Linked DNA regions of Homo sapiens: all the other regions are linked to region 3. The links are contacts of gene promoters, found by promoter capture Hi-C in blood cells and fetal thymus (Javierre and others, 2016). All regions are on one chromosome and are shown on one strand. The core of a region is centred on a gene start or on the middle of the fragment in contact, and the rest is flanking DNA. Distances in the headings are between cores, read along the strand shown. Region 1 overlaps CMSS1 (cms1 ribosomal small subunit homolog). Region 2 has its middle 48 kb from the start of TBC1D23. Region 3 holds the start of CMSS1 (cms1 ribosomal small subunit homolog). Region 4 overlaps TBC1D23 (TBC1 domain family member 23).

What was found. Contacts are between HindIII fragments. The CHiCAGO score rates a contact against its expected background, and 5 or more counts as called.
Region 1: a contact is called between a fragment that was not itself captured here and the fragment with the promoter of CMSS1 in region 3, in 1 of 17 cell types (monocytes). The highest score is 5.1, in monocytes.
Region 2: a fragment that was not itself captured here is called in contact with the fragment with the promoter of CMSS1 in region 3 in 1 of 17 cell types (activated CD4 T cells); the score reaches 5.1 in activated CD4 T cells.
Region 4: a fragment that was not itself captured here is called in contact with the fragment with the promoter of CMSS1 in region 3 in 1 of 17 cell types (naive B cells); the score reaches 5.5 in naive B cells.

The regions. Positions count from the first base shown.
Region 1 is chr3:100,083,647-100,086,512 of GRCh38, forward strand. All of the region lies in intron 1 of CMSS1 (cms1 ribosomal small subunit homolog), which reads left to right. All of the region lies in intron 1 of FILIP1L (filamin A interacting protein 1 like), which reads right to left. Among named protein-coding and RNA genes, the nearest start is that of FILIP1L, 29 kb to the right of the region's middle. The HindIII fragment of the contact is 1,269 bases long and covers 707-1,975 here.
Region 2 is chr3:100,211,307-100,214,006 of GRCh38, forward strand. No RefSeq gene overlaps it. Among named protein-coding and RNA genes, the nearest start is that of TBC1D23, 48 kb to the right of the region's middle. The HindIII fragment of the contact is 1,598 bases long and covers 466-2,063 here.
Region 3 is chr3:99,816,593-99,819,325 of GRCh38, forward strand. It overlaps CMSS1 (cms1 ribosomal small subunit homolog), which reads left to right and starts at 1,270. Exons shown (of 10, transcript NM_032359.4): 1 at 1,270-1,451. The coding sequence starts at 1,388. HP09053 (a long non-coding RNA gene) reads right to left here. Exons shown (of 3, transcript NR_110821.1): 2 at 2,328-2,382; 3 at 40-1,880. It overlaps LOC105374010 (a long non-coding RNA gene), which reads left to right and starts at 1,270. Exons shown (of 5, transcript NR_189163.1): 1 at 1,270-1,451. RefSeq lists a silencer at 951-1,705 and enhancers at 1,121-1,995, 1,227-1,536. The HindIII fragment of the contact is 550 bases long and covers 1,132-1,681 here.
Region 4 is chr3:100,298,409-100,301,108 of GRCh38, forward strand. It overlaps TBC1D23 (TBC1 domain family member 23), which reads left to right. Exons shown (of 19, transcript NM_001199198.3): 10 at 831-923. Among named protein-coding and RNA genes, the nearest start is that of NIT2, 35 kb to the right of the region's middle. The HindIII fragment of the contact is 9,654 bases long and covers 1-2,700 here.

The DNA of each region.
Region 1 (2,866 bases), core at 91-2,590, 270 kb after region 3:
TAGTGTCATATTTTTTAAAGTGTTAGAATAATCAGTCTTAACTAAATTGTGTTTTCAACTTCATAAAAAAAATTTTTAACATCACCATTTCTTTGTTTGTTTGTTTGTTTAGAGAAGGGGGTCTCCCTATGTTGCCCAGGCTGGTTTCAAACTTCTGGGCTCAAGCAGTCCTCCCACCTTGGCCTCCCAAAGTGCTAGTATTAAGGCATGAGCCACGGTGCCTGGCGTGATTCTTGCCATTGGAAGTTCTATAGTAGATTTTGGTCAGAAGTACTAAGGTTGTGAGCATAATTATCAAAATAAAATTTATGTATGCTGAAGTTGACAGCTGAATTACAAAGAATATTTCTCCGTTATAGTTAATTTGTGTTATTTCTTCCTTTCATAAAATAATAATAATGCTTGTATTAAAATTTCTGCTACCCCCATGCCAGCAGAAAGGAGCTCAATTTTTAAAATAAAGCCTCGGGCCATGAGACCCATGTCATTTGCTGCATGTCTAGACTTCTAGATTATGCATTTGTGCCCCAGTTAAGCAAAAGCTCCGTATTGTTATTTCATGTACATGTTTAAATAACTTTAATAGCAGCCTTTGGAGTGGCTCATTTTAAAAGTCCCTTTTAGTCTCCTACCTGCTATTTTTCACTAGCCCATTGAGTAGAGGGGTTTTTCATGCTACCCACATAAAAATATGCAAATATTTATAAGCTTAGGTCCATCAAACTAGTTAATTTGGACCTAAATATGAATTTTGATCAAGGCTGCTTGCAAATTCACATTTTGGGCTTACTTTCAGATTTCAGATATATAGAAAAACTCAAAGAAAATGAATAAAGCCTTTCAGTGCTCCAAAGATTTGTTTAAAAGGAACAGCCACTAAAAACGGGAAAACAATACAGTGTTATGGGAAGTAAGAACCTTATGATAGCCGTGTCTCTTAAACAGAGCTTTATAAAGAGGAACTGATGTGGTTTTACTATGTCTATGCAAGGGATTTGACCGTAAAGCCATAAGTTAGAGAAATTGTCACTTACGTATAAACATGAGGATATGGATATTACAGATCAACCTCACTTTTTCCACTTATTTGTGTTCCGAAAACTGAATATTTATAAATCAAATCATAGTTTTCACTTGGTTCATATTATCATCTCAGAGCTGTAGCTTCTTTTTCACTTGCGTAGGTGGAATTTGGTTGCTAAAATACCTATCCCCAATCAGTCCCAGCCTTGCATCAAGTTAGGGAATTATAAATGAAGTAGCCACTATGTAAAGGTAATGTAATGAATCCAAAAATTATCTTATAATGCAGAAACTCATTCTCTGTCCATGTCTTTAGCTTCAGATTTTTCTGTCATTTGTTGAATTGTGGCGCACTTTTAAATATGTATGTATGGTACAGATCTCTGCTGAATCTCCTAAACTAAGCCGTATCCCCTAAAGTGGTGGTTTCCAGCCCAGGCTGCTCAATAGAATCACAAGAGAAACAGTCCTGATCAGTTGAATTAGAATCCCTGGATATGGAATTGTTTTAAAAGTATCTAAGGTGATTATACCGTACAACCAACCTGAAGTTTGCCAGAAGAGAACATTAATATTTTAGAACAGCTTATTATTGTAGATAGTGTGATTATAAACTAGTTAAAATGTTTCACACTAAGAGGACTGATGTTTTATATCTTCCCTTCTCCTTAAGGAATTCATTTCTTTCTGCTTCCTCATGTAGGGAAAAATGACTGACTTTTACTATAATAGCAGGGTCTTTTTATACAAATGTTGCCCATTTGGGACTATGCTTTCTCCAAGTGCTTGTAATTTCTCAAAACCATACATCAATCCAAAGTTCCTTTGCTTTTTTATCTCAGAAGCAAAAATATCCCCATTTCTTCCTCTCTTATCAACCAAGACCCCTCTGTGTTCCTCTTTCATCCTTCATCTCAGCATAGCTCTAAGATGCAGGCAAATAACATCCTCAAGCTTACAGGCTTTCCGTCTCTCATGAGGGAATGAAGTGCCTTTCCTCCAACTGAAATGTTTCTGAAGTACTCTTCAGCCACTGCAGTGTTCTGTCATTTTTGTCTGTCATCTGGGAATCAGAGCTATGCACGTGGATGATGACCCCCTCCTAAGTGGCCAAATAAAAGAAGTTACATATGTCTTTTATTCACTCTGTGTTTCTCTGGAGACCTCGACTAGCAGGAAAAGAGGTGGTTACATTTTCATGAAGAGTAATATACTCCCAAGTTGCATTTTAATGGATAACTTAGCTCTGGGTTAGATTCTTCAGCATAAAGGTCACCACTTTTAATATAGAGGGTCATGAGTTTAGTCATTGGACAAGTTAATCAAATGGCTGCTGTAGTTGAAAAGTACATCTGCATTTGAATAAAATATGATTCGTGTTAGAGAGCTAAACTTGATGTTTGGTTTCCTCCAGGTAATAAAATAGCTTTTAATGAAATAAACATGTATCTTTCTGCAGCGAACCTGCATAAAGAGCATAGAACAGTTGCGTTTCCTTTCTGGCAGTGGTAGAGAGTCTTTGACCTGCCATGGGCTGCTTTATTTTATTCAGTCTCAAATAGTTAACCTATTGAGCTGATTAGAAAACAACTAGAAGTCATTCAGTACCACAGAAGAAAGGGACAGAAAAGCCACGAAGTTAGTTGTACTTGTTTGGACATCAATATCATTGATTATATCATTCCAAGTATTACTACTGAGAAATGTCTTGGAATCAGCTGACCCCCTCTAGTTCTAATACCATAAAGGGGGAAAAAAAATCCAGGTTCTACTCTTATCTGTGCTTTCTCACTTATAACAGTACCTAACTCCTAGTTGATACTCAAATACTTTTTTTACAATT
Region 2 (2,700 bases), core at 15-2,514, 390 kb after region 3:
TATCAGTTGTCTATAAGTCATTCAGATCTGTGTCAGAATCTCTTTCGTAGCTTACAACTATGTAGAGGGAAGGCTTGTTTTTATTTTCATTCCAGCAAGATACAGAGTAGTGCTTGGTAAAGATTAAGTTGCAGCATATGAGATTAGATATTTAACCATTTTTTTACCTATAAAAAAGAGCAATTTTATATGTGTCAACCTAATATATTCAGTATATGCAATACTAGAAATGTGAAGTGTTGAGTCAGATTCTTAACAGGTCTTCTTAGACTTCCCAGTAACCAGGTTCCACGGAGAAAAATCAGTTGTTCTCTCCACCCTGACATGGTGTGGGGGTAATAGCCTTTTCTTAGGTCTTGCCTACACAGTGACAGGAGCTATGACATGGTTGGCCTCCTTTGCCATGATGGCAATTCACATCATGCTGAAAAACAAGAAAATGTCCTTCTTCCATCAATAAAGTCAAGCTTTAAAAAGAAAAGGAGGAAACAAAACTGGACAGTGAAGTAACAGAACCAAAGATCTCTGAAGGGCTGGAGATGACTGGGATGTTTCAACAAGGGGAACTAGGTTGACTGAACTAAAATCAATTTCAAATAGACAATGAAGAGAATTTTAGAGTTAAAAAGAAGAAGGAAGAAGAGGGGAGGCATAATTATACGTAGTAAAATGTCCTTGGTGTGGGGAGAATAAGTCACTCTTGAGCTCTAGACCAGTTTTCCAGTATTTATTTGAAGTCCTTGAGCCTGAAGGCAGGTGAACTCTGTAAGAGAGTGCCATCACCAGAAAAGAGCAAGCAATCTGGGGTACCCACGATTAGGTGAGTCCTAACCATCGGATCAGGCTCAAACCATGAGTCTTCACTGGCTATTTGAAATTTGCTTTTATTTTTTTTTTTGAGATGGAGTCTAACCCTGTCACCCAGGCTGGAGTGCAGTGGCACAATCTTGGCTCACTGCAACTTCTGCCTCCTGGGCTCAAGCAATCCTCCTGGCTCAAGCGATCCTCCTGCCTCAACCTCTCAATTAGCTGGGATTATAGGCGTGTGCCCCCATACCCTGCTAATTTTTGCTATTTTATTTATTTATTTATTTGTTTGTTTGTTTGAGATGGAGTCTTACTCTGTCACCCAGGCTGGAGTGCAGTGGCGCAATCTCAGCTCACTGTAACCTCTGCCTCCCAGGTTCAAGCAGTTCTCCTGCCTCAGCCTCCCGAGTAACTGGGATTACAGGCGCATGCAACCATGCCCCGCTAATTTTTGTCTTTTAGTAAAGACGGGGTTTCACCATGTTGGCCAGGCTGGTCTCGAACACCTGACCTCAGGTGATCCACCCGCCTCACATTCCCAAAGTGCTGGGATTACAGGCTTGAAGCACTGCGCCCGGCCTTTATAATTTTAGTAGAGTTGGGGTTTCACCATGTTGGCCAGGCTGGTCTCAAACTCACCTCAAGTGATCCACCCGCCTTCCAAAGTGCTGGAATTACAGGTGTGAGCCACCGCACCTGGCCTGAAATTATTATAACCACCCCAACAATTGTTGAACTAAATTCAGCATCAGGATGATTTTTGAAAACTGATTTTTTTTTAATGTTCTCCCTTTTCTATAGAGTTAGAGTTAGAGTTTTTTCTGCTAAGAACAGACCAAGCAAAGGTTATGGCAATATCCTGAGCACTCAAAATACAGCCATGCACCAAAAAGAAAGGCTAGAAACTTCCCTAAAGTTATCCATTTGGCCAAGAGGGAAGCATTGAAAGTGACTGATTCTCAAACACTGTACTCAGCATGTTGAAGGCACAACAATGCTAGAACTTATATTGGGATGACATGTTCTAGAATACAAATGATGTTGTAGATTTATGATACTTGAATTAACGTTTTGAGGAAGGTTCTCAGGGTCTCTCTTGAAAGGCTTTAATTCCTGCCAAAGGTCCCTCACAGGAGACTGGATGGAATGCTTAGTGAATCTGTCAGGACATGAAGCCCCACAGATTTGTATACCTAGCTGGCCACAATATTATATTTTTTAAGACATTTTTATGTTAATTTTTTAGAGGTGGGGGAAGCTTTACTCTGATTATTCTAGGAGCAGAATTGTCATTGTTAAATAAAAATATAGTGCCAACACATGTTCATCTCTTTAGTAGCCAAGAAAGCATTTCTTTGTTGCAACTTTCTATGTTTGTCACATAATCGAGTACTTTTCTAAAAAATAAAATAATTTTAAGTACCAACTCTGAAATCTTAGAATCCTTCCCCTATCTCACCTTCCATTTGTAACCAATTACCTCTGACCAGGTGTGGTAGGTAGAATAATACCCCCTGCCCACCACCAATGATGTCCACGTCCTAATTCCCGGAATGTGTAAATGTATTAAATGTCCAGAGAGACTCTACAGATATGATTAAGGACACTGATAGAAGGAGATGATCCTGGGTGATTTGGGTGGGCCCACTGCAGTCATAAGGGCCTTATAAGAGGCAGGCAGTGATAAAAGGAGTAGTAGGAGATGCAACAACAGAAGCAGGAGGTTGGAGTGATGCGAGGAAGTGGCCATGATCCAAAGAATGTAAGTGGCCTCCAGAAGCTGAAAAAAGCAAGAAATAGATTCTTCCCCGAAGCCTTCAGACGCCCTACTGACACTTTGATCTGATCTGCAGAAATGTAAGAGAATAAATTTACCTTGTTTCAAGCATACTG
Region 3 (2,733 bases), core at 20-2,519:
TTTTTTTTGTATTTCCCAGATTAATAATCAGACTGAATTCTTTTCATGTTTATTAGCCATAGCAACTCCTCTTCCACACTGGCATTTCTTATCTTTTTCAAAAATCTATTAATCACGAAAATCTCGTCATCTACATTTCTTCACAAAAGCCATATTACTTTTGATCTTTATAGATTATTTTACATTTGCCATATTTATACATAATATCTTCCCTTTTGGGGCATTTAGAGTGTGCGGACAAAGTCTAGGCAGTAATGCATTTATAAAACATCTATGAGTTGGGTGCACACGGGGTAATTTTCCACATATGGCTAATCCTAGCCTCATCAGATTAAGTTTCCCTGTCTTGTCATTTCCGAGGATGTATCCTATTAGAAGTCTAGCCCTTTATTCCTACAAATTGAATTTCCACTACTGTAGGCTAACATCTGAATGGACTCATCTTACTATTCCATGCATAGTACCAGGCACGTTGCGTGCTTTTACTACATTTTGTATAATTTTTACGTCTGTGTTTGATGTCCTGAAAAATACCGTCCACAATTACTTCACAGCTAGCCCCAGCACTTGGCGCCCAGCGGGTTTTCCTAGTCCCTCCCTGCCAAATCACGTTGGGACTGAGACAAGAGGCACTGCGGGTCTCTTACCTATAGTTACGAAGCAATGGACTCCCTTATTACTTCGTTTCCCAAATAGGGGGTGGGACACACAACCGAGGGAGTATGAGGAAAACAACTTGCGGGTCTTCGAGCCACTTGCGTCTTTCTGTGGGCGAGCCTTTCCAGGCCAATTACATTTTCTTTACTCATATTGCATAAATAGCAGAACTACATTTACCACAAAGGCCCGACATTCATGGTCATGGATCCTTGCGCATGTTTTCTAAGAGCAAACTGTACAAACACATAAACTCTGAAACACTGACGCACAAGCGAAAACACACGCACATGTTTGGGTCTTCTCCCGCTGCGCAAGTTCTTTGAAACTGAGCGGAGAAAAATCGTCTTCACATGGTGTCTCACACTTTCGACACAATCTTATCGGGAAACGTAACACGTAAACAAAATTTTTTAAAATGCATTATCAAAAACGATGACAATCCCTTTCGTCTTATGTTCCTTTTTGTCTTTAAGCTTTGGGGGGATTTATGTTGCGTTTCCAAACTGCTTCTGCCTGTCGGCGCCTGTGTGGAAACTGCGACGAGTCTGGGAGCGGCTGCCGGAGAGGCGGGGCAGAGGTGTGACGTCATCGCCGCGGGGCGGAGGCGACAGTGTCTAGCGGGAGCTCCGCGTGTAGCTACGCCGGCCGCCTGGCTTTGAGACAACGTGATTCTCCGCAGCTGGTCGCCTACCCGTGATGTTCTGCCCACGTCGAGACCTGAGCTGAAATGGCAGACGATCTCGGAGACGAGTGGTGGGAGAACCAGCCGACTGGAGCAGGCAGCAGCCCAGGTACCCACTCTGTGCCCGCGCTCCTACGGGGCCTCTCCCGGAGCCCTTCCGTGCGCCTCAGCCCTGGTCGCTTCTGGCGATCGCGGTGTTTGCCCAGCAGGGGTGTGCACCGCCTTGGGAGCGCGCAAGCATCTCGGGGAAAATGGTGCAAGAGATTCTTTAACACGTGAAACAGACAGCTGTGACATTAACTCAGATCTGTCTGCCAGCCAGGAAGGATCCTTTCCACAAGCTTTCTCTTTTCCTTATTTCTTGAGAATGGATAAGACAGTTTTTGTGAAGAGAGGCAACTTTGTATGATGGTTAAGGGTGACCCATGAACTGCTTTCAATTCAGACTGAGGTCAGAAGCAGGGGTTGCTGCTTCAGACTCCCTCCATTCAAATCACGACTCCAGTATTCTGATACTGTTTAGCCTCCTTTTCCTCATCTGTAAAATAATGATAACAATAATGTCCATTTCGTAAAGTTGTGAAGATTAAGTGAAGTTAGTACAGTAATGCACTTTAGCATAGTGCTTGACATATAATGTGTGGTAAATATAAGTTACTGTATTTCTTGTGGTCATCATCATTATCATGGAATTTGGAATAGTAGAACTGGAAGGAGGCTTAAATAGAGATCATCCTTTGAACTCACTTATTTTACAGATGAGAAACATAACCTAAAGATGTCAAGTAACTTGACAAGTTCACAAAGCTAGCTCCTTTCAGAAACAATACTAGAATTCAGTTAACACAATTTGAATAGTTTCTACTATGCTCTGCTGTGTTTACCAACTCCTGATGCAGTGGGCATTTCATCCCCAAGTAGAGTAGCGTTAAGTGACCCCCCATGTCAGGCTAGCCTTGAACTTTTTAAGTTCCATCACACCTACCATGCAATTATTGGTTGGTTGGTTTTTATCACTCCTCAAGGTCTGCCTCTTTTCTCTACAAGAGAAGACAGGGCCAAAGTCAGATTCATACTTCTGTCATCCACAGGGCCCTGCACATGTTAGACACTTGATACCTATTTGCTGCAAACAATCTTGAAATACTAGTTGTGAAATATCCATTAAAAATAACCAACTTCATTTGTTGCATTGTTTCCGGAAGGTCAAGCCTTCAGGTACAAACTAAGCAGATGTCATTTTTAGAAAGGTAGCCAATACAACATTTCCTTGATTAAACTTCCTGACTCTTTTGCAGCCCTGTGGTGTTCCACATTTACTTTAATAACTACCCCTCCCAACTCAGGTGTTAAAAAGCTCTATTTTATGATATGATTGAAGATGAACAGAG
Region 4 (2,700 bases), core at 27-2,526, 480 kb after region 3:
TGGTTTAGTTCCATACAACTTATAGCAAAGGAGAATTGTGAAAATGAAATTTTCTTCATGAAAATCTAATAAGTCAATTTGACCAATGATGTTTTTAATATATGGTCTTTATTACTAGTAGTGCAGCAGTTAACCATGGTGTGTATTTGGAAGGTGTAGTGTATTTCCAAGGTTGAGGGCAGGAAAGGAATGGACGTGGGAAAATAGCCTTTTATGGTAGATCTTTCTTAGTTGGATTTCTTACTGTATCTGCGCTGGTTATTGAGGATTTTCAAAATACAAGCATCTCACTTTTTTCTTATTCAAACTAATATTTAAAAACAAATGAAAACATGTTATCCAGTTTAAAGAGATCCATGTGAACTTCTTTAGTTGAAACTGGTATTTCAGAACATTCTCCCTTCATCCCCCCACACGAAATAGATGTTTAGTTCTTACGTGAATTGAGCTGTTGATAAATTTGCAGATTTATTTGCAAAAAAGAATAGCATATCTAGAGTTGTGTTTATAACTATATAGCGTTTTATAATTAGTTTTATAATTAATTATAATTAGTTTTATAGCTCAAACAGACACTCTCCTTCTATGTATTTTAAGACTTTCCAGTAAAGAACAACATCTAAAAAAGAAAAATGTTTTAACTGTTTAAAAGAAATAAAAGTATTTAGGACCTTCGGGTTATTTTCTGTGCTAACTAGGTCCTCCCAATTCCATGTGAGATCCATTTTTTAATGAACTTGTTCCCTTTATTTGGTTAACTGTGAATATTATGTTGTGCAATGTGAACCTCATGGGAAATTCCTGTATGTCAAATGTTGTTTCCGTTTTAGGAAGGAGTCCGGTTCTTTGTGGTGGATTGCCGTCCTGCAGAACAATATAATGCTGGGCATTTATCAACTGCTTTCCACTTAGATTCAGACCTGGTTAGTATAAATGCTGATTAATTATTCTTAAAGTAACTTTTTTTCCTTCAGTTCATAAATAAATATATAGGTCCCAGATTGGGGAATTTTTTTCTTTCTGCTTAAGGAGGGAGTCTCTGCCCTTATGAGAAAAGTGTTGCTGTCAGGTTTCCTTTTCACCCAAATACCCTTTTGTGTTTTTGTTGTTGTTTGTTTGTTTGTTTGTTTCGCTTTTGTTGCCCAGGCAGGAGTGCAATGGTGCGATCTCGGCTCACTGCAACCTCTGCCTCCTGGGTTCAAGCTATTCTCCTGCCTCACCCTCCCTAGTAGGTGGGATTACAGGCACCCACCACCAGGCCCGGCTAATTTTTTGTATTTTTAGTAGAGACGGGCTTTCACCATGTTGGCCAGGCTGGTCTCGAACTCCTGACCTCAGGTGATCCCCCTGCCTCAGCCTCCCAAAGTGTTGGGATTATAGGCGTGAGCCACCACGCCCAGCCCAGATACCCTTTTGGCATTATAAAGGGTAGTTGAAAACAATGCTCACTATGGCTTACTATCGCTTACCATTTTTATGTCAGTAAATTCTGAACTTAGTTTGAGCTACCTAGTATAGCACTTAGCATAGTGCACTGCACCTACTAAGTACTCTCTGGATATCAGCTCTTACTGTAATTGAGTAAGAATTCTGTAGGCTTTATAGTATGAGCCATTTTTAATCATGAGTATTTATGCATATAATAAACTAATATTTAATAAGGGTAGTATCTGGCATATAAGTACTTAGTTATTAAAACTACTATCCTAGGTCATTTAATTTGAAGAATGGTAAATAATTGTCAGAGATGTATAGAGCTGTTGGTAGAATTGAGGCTAACATCATTTAAGCCATTCTGGGATCATTAAAGCCTCAGGGATGGGGAACACAGGAATGGGATGAGAAACCTCTTAGCTAAATGTTAAGTCTACCTTTCCCCTTCCCAACTCGTCTGAAAAATTTGATGCTGAACTGAAAGGGTGTGTGAAAGGGCCTAGGTAATATTGAGGAAGAACTAACAGATATTGTGAGAAAGGCCATCTTAGCTCATCCATATTCTGTAGGTGAACTCTGTGCCTTTCTCTTCCTTGATTCCTCTCTCCTTCCTATTTTAAAAATTTACTCAAGTGATTCATGAATACTTGAATTAATTTTTTTTTTTTTTTTTTTTGAGACAGAGTTTCTACTCTGCCACTCAGGCTGGAGTACAGTGTTATGATCTTGGCTCACTGCAACCTCAGCCTCCCAGGTTCTGGCGATTCCCTAGCCTCAGCCTCCCGAGTAACTGGGACTGCAGGTGTGCGCCACCATGCCTGGCTAATTTTTTTTACTTTTAGTAGAGGAGGGGGTTCATGTTGGCCAGGCTGGTCTCAAACTCCCAGCTTCAAGTGATCTGCCCACCTTGGCCTCCCAAAGTGCAGGGATTACAGGCGTGAGTCACCATGCCCGGCTTGAATTTTTAAAAATTTTTAAAGAATATTATCAGCTTACGTAATCTTCCAGACTTTTAATATCTGTTTACATATTTTTTGTTTTGCCACTTGATTTTTCACGTAACAGTTTCTAAGAGATCTTTTGATTTAAGTACATTCTTTCTAATGATGCATAGTGGTCCATGGTACATGTAGGTATACTATAATTTATTGCCTGATTGATGTATATGTGGGTTATTTTTTGTTTTCTTGTAATAATGCTGCATTTGACATCTTTTTATACATTTTGTGAACTTATGCAAATATTTCTGTAAAATAGATTCTTAAA